5 separate regions of the Homo sapiens genome follow, and all the other regions are linked to region 4. The links are contacts of gene promoters, found by promoter capture Hi-C in blood cells and fetal thymus (Javierre and others, 2016). All regions are on one chromosome and are shown on one strand. The core of a region is centred on a gene start or on the middle of the fragment in contact, and the rest is flanking DNA. Distances in the headings are between cores, read along the strand shown.

Evidence for each region. The method cuts DNA at HindIII sites, captures the fragments that hold promoters and counts their contacts. A CHiCAGO score of 5 or more calls a contact.
Region 1: a fragment that was not itself captured here is called in contact with the fragment with the promoter of ETS2 in region 4 in 7 of 17 cell types (M1 macrophages, M0 macrophages, M2 macrophages and 4 more); the score reaches 16.2 in M1 macrophages.
Region 2: a fragment that was not itself captured here is called in contact with the fragment with the promoter of ETS2 in region 4 in 5 of 17 cell types (megakaryocytes, endothelial precursors, M1 macrophages and 2 more); the score reaches 11.4 in megakaryocytes.
Region 3: a contact is called between a fragment that was not itself captured here and the fragment with the promoter of ETS2 in region 4, in 10 of 17 cell types (megakaryocytes, M0 macrophages, M1 macrophages and 7 more). The highest score is 34.1, in megakaryocytes.
Region 5: a contact is called between a fragment that was not itself captured here and the fragment with the promoter of ETS2 in region 4, in 10 of 17 cell types (M1 macrophages, monocytes, M0 macrophages and 7 more). The highest score is 31.0, in M1 macrophages.

What each region holds. Positions count from the first base shown.
Region 1 is chr21:39,076,929-39,079,628 of GRCh38, forward strand. The region is part of intron 3 of LINC02943 (long intergenic non-protein coding RNA 2943); the gene reads right to left. Among named protein-coding and RNA genes, the nearest start is that of LINC02943, 6.3 kb to the right of the region's middle. The HindIII fragment of the contact is 9,621 bases long and covers 1-2,700 here.
Region 2 is chr21:38,510,363-38,513,062 of GRCh38, forward strand. The region is part of intron 1 of LOC105372802 (a long non-coding RNA gene); the gene reads left to right. It also overlaps a transcript of ERG not described here. Among named protein-coding and RNA genes, the nearest start is that of ERG, 13 kb to the left of the region's middle. The HindIII fragment of the contact is 3,047 bases long and covers 1-2,700 here.
Region 3 is chr21:39,117,595-39,120,294 of GRCh38, forward strand. No RefSeq gene overlaps it. Among named protein-coding and RNA genes, the nearest start is that of LINC02943, 34 kb to the left of the region's middle. The HindIII fragment of the contact is 7,449 bases long and covers 1-2,700 here.
Region 4 is chr21:38,804,626-38,807,325 of GRCh38, forward strand. ETS2 (ETS proto-oncogene 2, transcription factor) reads left to right here and starts at 1,304. Exons shown (of 10, transcript NM_005239.6): 1 at 1,304-1,495. RefSeq lists enhancers at 103-603, 137-276, 457-516, 527-686 and silencers at 797-1,126, 1,147-1,216, 1,407-1,696, 1,807-1,906, 1,927-2,026. The HindIII fragment of the contact is 4,522 bases long and covers 1-2,475 here.
Region 5 is chr21:39,098,175-39,100,874 of GRCh38, forward strand. No RefSeq gene overlaps it. Among named protein-coding and RNA genes, the nearest start is that of LINC02943, 15 kb to the left of the region's middle. The HindIII fragment of the contact is 7,041 bases long and covers 1-2,700 here.

The DNA of each region.
Region 1 (2,700 bases), core at 3-2,502, 270 kb after region 4:
GAAGTTTACCAGCAGCAGATGGGGCATACCTGATGGAGAAATTCCAAAGAGGGATAATAAGACTCTGCCTGCCTCCTTCATGGAAATATACTCTGAGGTGGAAATGTACACAGTGTTCCCATAAGGGGCTTAGAACCATCATAAATGCATTATGCACAGATACAGCATAAATGTGGGGATGGGGGGTCACAAGTGGCTGGTGCATCAAGGACTCCCAGGCTGTAGGTGACACTCTGGGATGTCATCATACCACTTAGCACCCCCATTATTCTTTTTAATTAAAATGAAATTCACATAATATAAAATTAATCATTTTAAAAGGAACAATTCAGTGGCATTCAGTATATTCACAATGTTGTGCAACCACCACCTCCATCTAGTTCCAGAACATTCCAGCACCCCAAAAGAAAGTCTCATACCCATTAAGCAGCGATTCCCCATTCTCCCTCCCCCATCTCCCACCCTGACCCTTGACAACCACTAATCTGCTTTTTGTCTCTTTGAATGCCCCTATTCTGGGCATTTTATATAAATGGAATCGTACAACATGTGACCTTTTGTATCTGCCTTCTTCGACTTAGCATAATATTTTCGAGATTCATCCAGGTTGTAACGCGTGTCAGTCCTCCATTCTTTTTTATGGCTGAATAATGGTCCAATATATGAAAAGACTACATTTTGTTTAACCATGCCTCCAATAACGGACATCTGAGTTGCTTCCACTTTTTAGCTATCGTGAATAATGCTGCTACAAACATTTGTGTGGAACTATTTCTTGAGTGCTGTTTTCAGCTCTCTTGGATATATACCCAGGAATGGAATTGCATCTTCATCATGATATCCTCTCATTTTTCCAGCCTTTATTCTGAATCTTTTTAGAGGTCAAGGAAAGCAAACTTTTCCTGTAAATAAGCAGATAGTAAATATTTTAGGCTTTGCAAGCCAGGTGGTCTCTGATGCAACTACTCAACTCTGCCTTTGTAGCATGAAGCAACCACAGACAATCCATAAAAAGTTTATTGTTCTTCAATAAAATTTATTCACAAAAACAGACAAAGGGCCAGATTTGGCCCTCAGGCCGTGGTTTGCCAACCCCAGCTCTAGGACAAGCCCAAGTGGATGCAGCCTCTTCCAAGTGCCCCGTTTCACAGGAGAGGCACCTCCTCCAACCTAGCTTTCTATTGCCAGTGAGGATGAGCAAGGGAGACGGACTTAGCCTGTGGCAGAAGAGTTGAGGAACTGCCTTTAAAACTGATTATGAAATATGTGAAATCTTGGGATGTGCTTCTGCTATGAAGAGCAGCATTGTGCTCTCTGTTGATGTTTAAGAGTTAGGCTACCATCTTTCAGGTGGTTTTTGAGAATAAAAGTTTGATGAGTACCTTGACCAATCTCTTGGTGTCCTTTCAAACATTCACCCTTTCTGAGATTTATCAGGGGAGAAAGGGTCGCTCATGCTCAAAAGCTCATTCACCCAACAAGCATTTACTGAGCCTTTACTGTGTGCAGGCACTATACTAAATCCTTGGTATTTAAAATGATGCATTCCTGGAGGTTTTCTTTGGCAAGTTGGCTTGGATACCTCTAGTAATGGGGAGCTCACTACCTACACAGGGCATCCTACCCCATGGCTGCGCAGTTCTTTGCTCCTCAGAAGTACCTAAACCTCACCAGTATGCTTACACACCTCCCTCCCACCAGTCAAATATCAACAGGCACCCCCACCATAAACAGGTACACAGAGAACAGGTGAGGAAATGAGGAAATAGCAAGCAAACAAACAAACAAAGAAACACTGACGGCAACTTTTCTTACTCCTGGTATTTCTAAAAAGCAGAACAAAATCAATTTCACACCCAAGACATCTTGAAATGTTCCCAAACTTGGGCAAAGTTGACAGCTGAATTCTAAGGAGCTGCTTCCCATTAAGAAGAGGATATTAGGAAAGAAAATTATCAGAACTCTTTGTTTAAACTATGGTCTCAGCCAGGCACAGTGACTCAGGCCTATAATCCCAGAACTTTGTGGGGCCAAAACGGGCAGATTGCTTGAGCCCAGGAGTTAAAGACCAGCCTGGGCAATGTACCGAGATCCCATCTCTACAAAAACTTAAAAACTTAGCTGGACATGATGGGGTGAACCTGTGGTACCAGCAGCTACTCAGGAGGCTAAGGAGGGAGGATCGCTTGAGCCCAGGAGGTCAAGCCTGCAGTGAGCCATGACTGCACCACTGCACTCCAGCCTGGGCAACAGAACACAGTGAGACCCTCTCTCAAAAAACAAAAACAAACAAATAACCTTGTCTCCAGAAGAGGCAAATGAGAGGCAGGACAGCACAGAGACGGAAAACTCAGGTCTTGGGGCCTGGCAGGTCTGGGTTTGAAGGCCGCTCTTTCCCCCTTTAGCTGAGGGACCTGGTGCATGTCATTTCTTAGAGGAGGCTGAGTTTCCTCAACTGTAAAACCCGGTTAGAATAGTACCAGTTTCATAGGATGGCTGTGGGATGGAATGAGACACGCCATCTGTAGTGGTCACACAGAGCCACGAGCTATTAGTAAGTCAGTTGGCCTTCCCACCTGGCCACTCTCTTGCGGCTAAACAGAAGAAGGTGCAGAAACACCACAGAGATGGCTCATAAGTGCCACGTGGGGCTATGGATTCAATTAAAAGAAAAAATAAAGTCTGGAGGAAATGGAGGCA
Region 2 (2,700 bases), core at 76-2,575, 290 kb before region 4:
CTCACACGTCACTCTCTGTTTCATGGAATTCTTACACTGGGGAGCTCTTTTTATTTTACTATTTTTCTTTAACAGCCAGAACACTGAGAAGTTTGCAAAGAAATTTTTCAGCTGCCTTTAGTGACCCTTAACTCAAGAGGTTTTGCCTAATCTGTAAATTGGAGTTGAAAATATTTCAGTACTTTTGGAGTGGGGAGCTTTTTGTCTTTAAAAGAGTGGAACGACACTAACAATAGGGCTATACATACCTTGTGCTTCTTTGTCAGTTACTGCAAACCAAAACCAGATGTGAAGTATCAGCGGCTACCTCGTAGTGACCCATGGAAGTTGAGGCTAATCCATATCATTCTTAATAACTCAAAACTGCCACCTTTTAACCACCTAATTTTTTTCTCACTTACAAATGCAAAAAAAGGAATTGACAGTACACATTGAAATCGATTTTCCCCTGACCACTTACAGATTTTCTCCTATAAGAGCCAGGAATAAAAGCTCACTCCATTATATCAAGCAGCCATCATCTGAGTATGCTTTAGTTTAGGTGATCATCACCTTTAACAAACCAAGATCTGGAAGGAAGATTTCTGATCTTTAACAAACCAAGATTTGAAAACTAGATATTCCTGTCATGACCTTTTCCCAACATTCAGTATGTAAGGGATTCACTGGATTATTAGACTGCTTGTAAATGTAAGAAAACATAGAAGGTTTAGTGTGAAGGAGTTAGCAACCTAACAAATGTTTCCCCCTGAATTTTCAATAACCTTCCTGAATTTAAAGGTAATGAATATAAATGAAGAACAAAATCAATAGATATAGGAATGATTCACAACCTCCCAAATGAATAAATCAATCATTCCACCCTACATTTGAACATTCAATCAATATTTTGTCTATTTACTAAATCTAAGAGGAACTACTTTAACATAAAACTAAATATGAAATTATTTCCAGCATTGAATATTGTGTTTTGCCTTAGAGCAGGCACAAAGTGGAATGCCTATGGGTACAAAGCTAGGCATTGATTGATGTTTAATACCTACAAATACAGCAATTACACTGTCATGCTACACGAGACTTCCTATTCCTACACTGAAATTAGACTGCACATATGTAGGGATAAAAGATAAGACACAATCATATCATATTTCCTCAAATCTAAGACTTTGGGTGGTAAGATGTAAAGCACATCATGATTTAAAGTATCACTAGGAAAGAAAAAACAATTCTGCCAATGAAAATTCACCGTAATACTTTCTAATCAATCAATTTTAAGATACATCCCAATTTTTAAGCAAGAATAAATGTGTTAAAATTAACACAAATTGGTACACTTGTGATACAACAGAAGCACTAAAATGTCACAGCAATAGACCACAGGGTTTCTCAACCTTGGCAGCATCAACATTTTGGGTTGGTTAATTATCTGTTGTGGGGGCTGCCCTGTGCATGGCAGGATGTTTGCTAGCATTCCTGGCCTCTACCCACTAGATGCCAGTAACACCTCGCAGACTCCAATTATGACAACCAAAACTGTCTTTAGACATGGCCAACTGTCCCTAAAGGTGCAACCAAAAACTGTCCCAGTTGAGAACCACTGGAACAGAGCAATTCGGTTTTATCAGCCTTGTAATATAATTGTGTGTGTGCACTGTGTGCATGACAGACTGTCAGCCTAATGGAAGGTATATTGTCAGATGGGATAGATTGACCTGAAAAAATCACATAAACCAACAGCTGGTACATATACAAGAGTGTGTCCTGCCCATCCTAACCCACACAATGCAAAAGAACCTGGATGACCACGAGTCACCATCACAGGAGTTTACTATCCATAAGTGTAAACCATCCAAGAAAAGTGAAAACAGATTAAAGAAAATAAAAATAAATAAACCACCACACAATATTTGGGCCTAGCCAGATAACAACAATGAAAAAATGTAATATTTTGAAGTATTGGCAAGAATGTGGAGGAAAAAGCATTGACATTCGTGTATAATGGGAATAAAATAATTTATCCTTTGTCTCCGCAATTGATATTCTAGAAATCTATTTTTTAGAAATACTCACAATAGACAGTTATAAGTACAAAGGATGTCTGCTATTACACTGCTCAGTAACAGTAAAATATGAAAATACACTGTACGTCTTTCAATCAGATATTGAATAATTATACTACACAGTATTAAGAATGAGATAGATATTAATGTACTGCATAGAAAATATTCAAAGTATAATAAGTTTTAGAAAATTATCACATATGTATATTAGCATATGCAGAGAAAACATCTTAAAATACAAATTTCAGTTTTGAGGTTTGGATCATGGAGTAACTGCCCCCTTTTCAAGTCAAACAGTTGAGAAAATTTAGGATAAAACAAGTGTGTGCTACCTTTGTAATCAGATAAAGTATTTTAAAATAATTCACATTATAATATAGAAATACTGAAATGCCAAGAAAATTTAAATATATTAATTAAAACCTACGGGCCAGGCGCAGTGGCTCACGCCTGTAATCCCAGCACTTTGGGAGGCCGAGGCAGGCGGATCATGAGGTCAGGAGATTGAGACCACCCTGGGCAACATGGTGAAACCCTGTCTCTACTAAAAATACAAAAATTAGCTGGGCATGGTGGCGTGTGCCTGTAATCCCAGCTACTCAGGAGGCTGAGGCAGGAGAATCGCTTGAACCAGGGAGTC
Region 3 (2,700 bases), core at 129-2,628, 310 kb after region 4:
TTTTCTTGAATCCTCAGCAGTCCCCACCCTGCTGCTGTTAGGACAGAACCGCCAAGTCAGGAGCAACAGATAAAAGGGCTTCCCCTGCCCTGGTCCCTGCGCTACAGTGTAGGCTGAGCCAGCCTCATGGCCTGTGCAGCATGTCAAAGACAGCATCCCCATTTCGCCCTGCCCTCCCCTCAGCACCACAAAATACACAAGGCCCAGAAGAGGAGTCCAAATGCCTTCTCGCTGTCCCATGTTCACACGGACGCTGCTTAAGGATTTAAGTACATCTCAGAACACAAGAAGCCATGAGTGAGACTCTTGCTTTGTTCAAAAAGCTGTGTGATGTCCACACAAAACGGAAAACAAGTACGGGCTGCCAGCTCCCTGACAGGGACCCCCTCCCCATCCACGGAGATAAAACAAGCAATCACAGAAGTGGCTGGACCTACGAGCCTCTTCATCAGCTGACAAAATAGCTCTGAGGAACCCAGGAGCGTCACTGGGTGTATTGGGCCATTCTTGCATTGCTATAAAGAAATACCTAAGGTTGCATCATTTATAAAGAACAGGTTTAACTAGTTCCCGGTTCTGCAGGCTGTACAAGCATGGCGCAGGGCATCTGCTCAGCTTCTGGGGAGGCCTCAGGGAGCTTTTACTCATGGCAGAAGGCGAAGCAAGGGCAGGCATGTCACATGGCTAGAACAGGAGCAAGAGAAAGAATGGAGGGGAGGTGTCGCACACTTTTAAACAACCAGATCTCCCAAGCACTCACTATCACGAGGACAAGACCAAGGAGATGGCACTAAACCACTCATGAGAAATCCGCCCGCATGATCCAACCACCTCCCACCAAGCCCCGCCTCCGACAGTGGGGATTGCAATTCAACTCGAGATTTACAGGAGACGACATCCAAACTATTCTGCTGGGGGTGGTGTGCATAGCAGGGAAGGAAGGTAGCGTGGATGCAGAGGTCCCAGCAGGGTCTCGGATGGGGTTGGAAAGGCCTGTTCTCTCCCCTAGGAGTAGCCAGGACAGACCAGGCCTGGATGGGACCTGGAAGACACCTCCTGGTTCCCATTACATTTGCATTGCTCAGCCAAAGACCACAGGCTGGGCAGGGACCTCAGGGTTCTCAGGACCCCATAAAAGAGAAGGCGGAGGAGGAAACAACCTCTGTGCACACCCACAGATGGGGCCTCGGCCAGCATCCAGGCCAGCCCCGCCATGGGGAGGCGGCTTCAGTGCCAGTCAGGGTGACTCCCAGCAGCTCTGGAGCCAGGCCCTGGTAGACCCCTGAGCAAAGGCTGCCCTCCCCGGCCCTACCCAGGGAAATGGGTGGAGGGTGGCTTCCCCACAGAGAGAAGTACCTGGAACAAAAAGGGATTGAGGGACAGGGGCTGTGGGCCCTGTACACACTAGAACCTGCTGTCTTCCTGAAACTCACCCGAGGGACCCCACATTAGGCCTAGTCTTTTACCCAATACCCAGGGAGACAATTCCAGCTACACCCCTCAATCATCCCAGCAGAATCACGGTCAAGCCCGCAGGGAGGTGACCAGGAGCACAGTCCCTAGTGAGAGGAAAGAGCCACAGAATCACCTTTTCCTGAGGAAACAGAACCAAGCTAGGGCAGCGAAAATCCATAGTGAACACGAGCGACGCCCCCAGTGCGAGAACAGAGGATTTGGGAAACACAAAGCAGAAGCAAACAGAAAGAAGAAACACTTGCTGATGCTAGATATGAAACAGAATTGATGAAATAAAGGACAGGAGGGATGGGCTAAGAAGCAGGACAGACCCATTGAAGAGTGCACTGGGGGGTGGGGCGCGGTGGCTCACGCCTGTAATCACAGCACTTTGGGAGGTCGAGGCTGGCGGATCATCTGAGGTCAGGAGTTTGAGACCAGCCTGGTCAACATGGTGAAACCCCATCTCTACTAAAAATACAAAAATTAGCTGGGCGTGGTGGTGGGCGCCTATAATCCCAGCTACTCGGGAGGCTGAGGCAGGAGAATCACTTGAACCAGGGAGGTGGAGGTTGCAGCGAGCTGAGATCATGCCACTGCACTCCAGCCTGGGTGACAGACCAAGACTCCATCTCAAAAAAAAAAAAAAAAAGAGTGCACTGGGGGTCCGGGGTCAGGAAGGGAGGAGAAGCCGAAAGGGCAGAACAGTCAGGTGAGGCAGAGAACAAGAGGGGCGGCAACAGCTCCCTAAAGGGAGAGAGAAGCGGAAAAAGGGCACGGGGGAGAGGTTGCTCAAGAAACAATAACTGAAAGTCTCCCAAAACTAAAATGAAAAAGTCACATGCATTTATAAATCCTCAGACTGACAGGATTCATGGGGCAGTGAACAGGACAGGCAGAACCCACGCCAGCCAGGCAGCAGGAAGGAAGAGCAAAGAAAAACATGAGAGGTTATATCTTCCAGGAGAAAAAGTCGGTGACCTGCTGGATTTGTCTCCTAGGTCTTCCAGAACAAAATGTGGCACTACAAATGGGTGACTTAAAACAGCAAAAATGCATTCTGTCATGGTTCTGGAGGCTACGAATGCAAAATCAAGATACCAGCAGGGCCACGCTCCCTCGGAAAGCTCTAGGAGAGATTCCATTCTATGCCCCTCGTAGCTTCTGGTTTTGCCACTGTCCTCAACTTGTAGACACAACACTCCCAGCTTCTGCCTCCCTGCTCATACAGCCTTCCCCCTGAGT
Region 4 (2,700 bases), core at 54-2,553:
CGGTGATACCCGGAGACCTTCGGGGACCCAGAAACATTAAGGTGCACCGATATCTCAATTATCCGGATAACTCTAGACCTAGAGTCACCATGGAAACCTAGAACCCTGAGTCACAGAGAAGCTGGGCCATTCCTCTCCCTTCCCGGTGGTGCCGCAGTTCTTGAGATGTGAGCAGCTTTCAGCCCCGTGGCCTCGCCTAAGCTGGGGTTTCCTATTTCATCCACAACTTCAGGAATCTAAACTTTCCTGCAAAATATTGAGCATGTGACCTGAGTCCAAACAGCCATGGACTCAAGCACCTTCTGATAAAAACGGAAACCACAGTGTAGGGGGTGGTTTTGACCAGGGTTTCGGAGTCAGATAAACTCAGGTTTCCACCTTGAATTTCTCATCAATCTGACGTGGCAGGTTATTCATCCTAAGGTTCAGTTCCCACCTGTGTAAAGTGGGAGCCGCAAGTCCTCCGAGAGTGACGATGATGTGCGTGGAGTGCCCAGCCCAGATTGAAGCGCGGCCAAGGCGGGTCGCTATCTGGGCACCGCTCAGCTCCAGAGGGCGCCACTCCCGCGGAGCCTGCGGGATCGGGGCTTCCCGGGAGCAGCGCGATCAGCACCACGACTCGGGGACACAGCCAGGGCCCGGTTTCTACAGGAAGCGCCTCATTTGGAGCCTTTTTGTGATAGAATGATCATTAGTCCTAAGCCCATTCAGAGGTTCAAGAATGGGGTCGGCTCAATTTCAGGGCCTTATTACCCAAGCCCGGCTGCCCTTCGGTGCCACCAGCACCACTGCTCCGTCGCTGCGGAATTCCAAAGGCAGGTTTGGCGTTAGGGCCTTGGCCCCAGAGAGGACGCCGAGCGCTCCACGGAAAGTCTCCGCCCGGCTCCCAGGGCGCACACTCGCGCGCACGTGGGGCCGAGGCCCTGCTCCCGGGGCCTCAGGGCCAGCCGGCGAGGGACCCAGCCGAGTGACAGCAGGAGGCGGAGGGAAGGTTGGGCCGGAAGGTGTCAGCCCCGCCCCGCGCTCCCTCGCCGCCTCCGCCCTCCTCTTCTCTCCCCTCGTGCGTTCCCTCTCCTCTCCCTCCGCTCCCCCAACCCTCCTGCTGCCCCCTTCCCTCTCCTCCCGCTTCTCCCCATCCTGCCTACCTCCCTTCCCCTCCTCTTCTCTCTCCTCCCCTTCCCTCCCCTCTCTCTTCTCTCCTCCCTCGTTTCCTCCCCTCCCCTCCACTCGGCCGTCCCTCCTTCCTCCTCCCTCCTCCCTCCTCCTCCCGCTCCTGAAGAGCGCGCCGCGTGGGGGACGGCCCGGTTACTTCCTCCAGAGACTGACGAGTGCGGTGTCGCTCCAGCTCAGAGCTCCCGGAGCCGCCCGGCCAGCGTCCGGCCTCCCTGATCGTCTCTGGCCGGCGCCCTCGCCCTCGCCCGGCGCGCACCGAGCAGCCGCGGGCGCCGAGCAGCCACCGTCCCGACCAAGCGCCGGCCCTGCCCGCAGCGGCAGGGTAAGAGCTGGGCCCGCAGAGAGCGCCCGGCGCGCGGCTCCAGTCCCATGGAGGGTCACCCGGGGCCTGGGCGGGGGTCGCGGGGGGCACTGACACGCAGATCTCGGGGCGCTGCCGGGGGTGCAGGTGGGGGTGGCGGCTGCTGCGAGGACTCTAGGGGCGCGCGTCTGAGTTCCGCGCCGGCTCGTTTTCCGGTTATGGAGTGGCCTCCGGGGCTGGCGGGGTCGGCCGGGGGGTTCCTGCGTGCTAGGGCCGCTGTCTTCGGGGTCGCCTAGCGGCGGGCGCGGCCAGGGCGCGCTGGCTTGTTTCGCTCGCTTTTGTTTTTAAAAGGAAACGCAGGCCTGGTAGGGGGTCCTGCCCAGTGGATGTCCCGGCGAACATGATTTCGCGAACGGGAGTGGGGGCACAGGAGAGCGTGTCCGAGGTGGCCTGGCGCCCCGGCTTTGAGGGTGACTTCCTGGAGCGGCGCCGGGCCCGGAGGATCTGGGGCGCCCAAGACACCTGAAGGCTGCGGCACCGCGGGAACCTGCGGGGCGCGGGGTGCCATGGTCACCTGCTCGCCGCGTCCAGGGCCCGGGCTGGGGACCCCTCGGTCGTGCGAGGAGAGCGTGGGGAACCTGTCGGAAATGAGATCTGGTTGCGCTGGGCTGCCTTTATTTTCTCGTTCCTACAGCATTTGAATGAAGAGGTAACTGAGTGTTTGCTTGTGTGTGTTTGGGTTGCGTGTGTGTTATCCTATTTTATTTTTTACGGCAGGAGACCTTTTATGTTAGCCTGTACACAATTTCAGGGTAGCCTAAAACAGTAGTTGACGCGCTAGTTATTTAGAAAGTAAAGAAATGAGCAGTCCCCTTTGGAGACAGGAGTAATTTATTTTAATTCGCCAGTAAGAGATTATATTTGTTCCATACAATGGAAGCGCCTGTGCGTTATCTGCCTGCCCACACCACCACCAATCAGAGAGATAAATCTCCACGTTAAGCTTTATTAAAATTCTGAGTAGTAGCGCAGCACAGTAAATGTTAGCACCGACCATCCGCAGGGAAATGCTCAGATACTCATTTCTGGGATTAGTCATTCATCTCTCTAAACTGATCGCTTTCAAAGCGAAAAAAGCAAACTACCTTCAAATGTGTGTTACAAGGTTGTGTTGTTTCTTTTTTTTGTTTGTTTTCAAATTTATCTAAATAATCTTACATAAGTGA
Region 5 (2,700 bases), core at 187-2,686, 290 kb after region 4:
GTGTCAGCCCTTTTCCACTGGGGCCAGCAGGTCACTTTGCCTGGGAACAGAGCCGTCAGGGACACCCAGCAATCTTTCCTCCTAATTACAGTGTCTGCGCTAACCACTCCAGGATGGTCCCTGCATAACTGGGGTGAAAATCTAATATAACACTGTCTGGAGATCTTCCACATTCACCTAAGCCGGGGTGCAGGAATTAAAGTGTCTCTGACATTATGCTCCCGTCCCATCTCCTGCACACTGATTTGCAAAGTGAAAATGATCCTCAGTACAAAACCTGTCTCCATCTGCAACCTGCGAGAAACATCAAAAGAGGCAGGGCGACAGCCTGAAGGTTCCCCGAAGTCCTGCGGAGGAAAAGGAGAGCTTCTCAGGGAGAGGCAGCCAGGCGGCCAGCACAGGCACAGCGTGGCGTAGAATTTTTAAGTCCCTCTTTGGCGCGTCTTCTCTACAAAGCCTAACTCTCAATCCGTGTTATAACATCCTCACATTACTGTTCCCACCTTGGGTTCTCAGAAGTCTGTCAATGCTGGTACATGATGGAGACTAGAGTCTCTGATTAGAGGCCAACGCAGCACACATTTGCCCCAAATTGTCCTTGGGGTTTCCAGCAGCAGCCCCTGCATAATGATGCTTGGTGTAAACTGACCCAGCCCCACACAGGAAGGCTTTGTGTGTCAGTTACCCCTAGGAAAAGGACAGGGTCAAAAGTCATCCCAAGAGGAAATCTGGCCCCAGCACCCAAGGCCTCCTCTCTCTGTCTCCAGGAAACTCTCGTCTAACAAATCAGATATTAGCACCATGAACCCTGAGTGCCACTTAACCTCTGAACTTATCAAACAACACCAGCAAACAGCCATTTACTCCTAGGTTACCCAAGGGTATCTAAAAGAGAAAAAAGGAATGAAGGAACAGCTTTTTAGGATCTTGGTGGACATTTTATGGGCATATTTACTTGTTGTTGGCGTCTTTACAGCTTTTCCCTAAAGACTATCATTATGGTAACAGATGGCTTCATCTTTAACTGCTCAGTAAATAAAAGGGCTTTAAATTTTTTTTATTAATCTCTTTTAGGTTTCATCTCAATTATCTTAGGGGAAAAAAGGTCTCTATTGCATTGACTAGGTCTTCTTAAACAGATTAATTGGCTATGATAAATTTTTCAAAGTTAGACTCAAAATTCACAGAACATGTAATCCTAGCCAGAGCAATTGGTGGCTTTCTGGAAAGGGACCTGCCTGACTTTCTCAGAGGCTCTCAGAATTTGCCATTACACTTTTTTGCTTTTATAGGGAGGGGAAGTGACAAGTCTTCTACCACCTGCAAAGAACTGCTTTCCTTGGTAACCTGGGGATGCGTCCGCCCCTCGGTGGATCCATCGGAAGGAAGTGCCCTGTCTCAGTGTGCAGGATGATGCAGAATTCTTTTGCCTGCCTAGAGCACCTAGCAAGGGCCAGGCTTTCCCTCTTTCATTCTTTTCTTCATTAATGCATCCAGCAAGATTTATTGAGGGCTTATCTTTGCCAAGCACTGTGCTAGGTGCTCTGAATACAGTAGTGGCCTTCACAAAGTCCCTGCCCTCATGGAGCTCACATGCTACTGACACAGACCAAATAATACATAAATACAGGGGTCTCCACCCACTGGGCCACAGCCTGGTACTGGTCTGTGGCCTGTTAGGAACAGGGCCACACAGGAGGAGGTGAGCAGCAGGTAAGCGAGCACTACTGCATAAGCTCCACCTCCTGTCAGATCAGCAGCACACGATTCTCATAGGAGCGCAAACTCCATTGTGAACTGTGCAGGCGAGGGATCTAGTTGCATGCTCCTTATGAGAATCTAATGCCTGATGATCTGAGATGGAGCTGAGGTAGTGATGCTAGTGCTGGGGAGCAGCTGCACATACAGACTTTTGTTAGCCAAGAGGTTTGACTGCACAGAGACCATAATAAGTCAACTGCTTTCAGACTCATAACAAAACCCTCTCAGTGAGTGGCAAGACACAATTAAGCTGCAGGCTTCATGGTGGCAAGTGAGCTTCAGTTGTACAGCTGCATCAAGTGGCAATAAAGGTAGGTCTGAGACAACTTCCCATCTCCATACATTCTGGATTAAAGTCAAGGCAGAATATCCTGCGGTTGCCAGAAAAGCACTGGAAAGCCTGCTTCCATTTCCAACATCCTATCTTTGTGAAGCAGGGTTTTCTGCAGTGACAGCAACCAAAACGAGATCACAAAGTAGACTGGACATAAGCACCACACTTCAGGTGTTACTGTCTCCATCACCCCCAGATGGAACCAGCTAGTTGCAGGAAAACGAGCTCAGGGATCCCACTAATTCTACATTATGGTGAGTTGTATAATTGTTTTATTATATATATTACAATGTAATAATAATAGAAATAAAGGGCATAAGAAATGGAATGCACTTGAATCATCCCAAAACCATCCCCCACGCCGTGGAAAAACTGTCTTCCATGAAACCACCCTCTGGTGCCAAGAAGGTTGGGGACCACTGCATAAATACACCTGGAATATCACATCAGGTAGGGAAGAAAAATAATGCCATGAAAGGAGACAGATAGAGTCCTGGGCAGGTTGAGGGTCAGCAAAGAAACCTTTCTGAGGACCCTGAATTTGAGCAGAGACCTGAATGAAGCGAGGGAGGAAGCCAAATAAATATCTGGGAAGATTTTTCTAG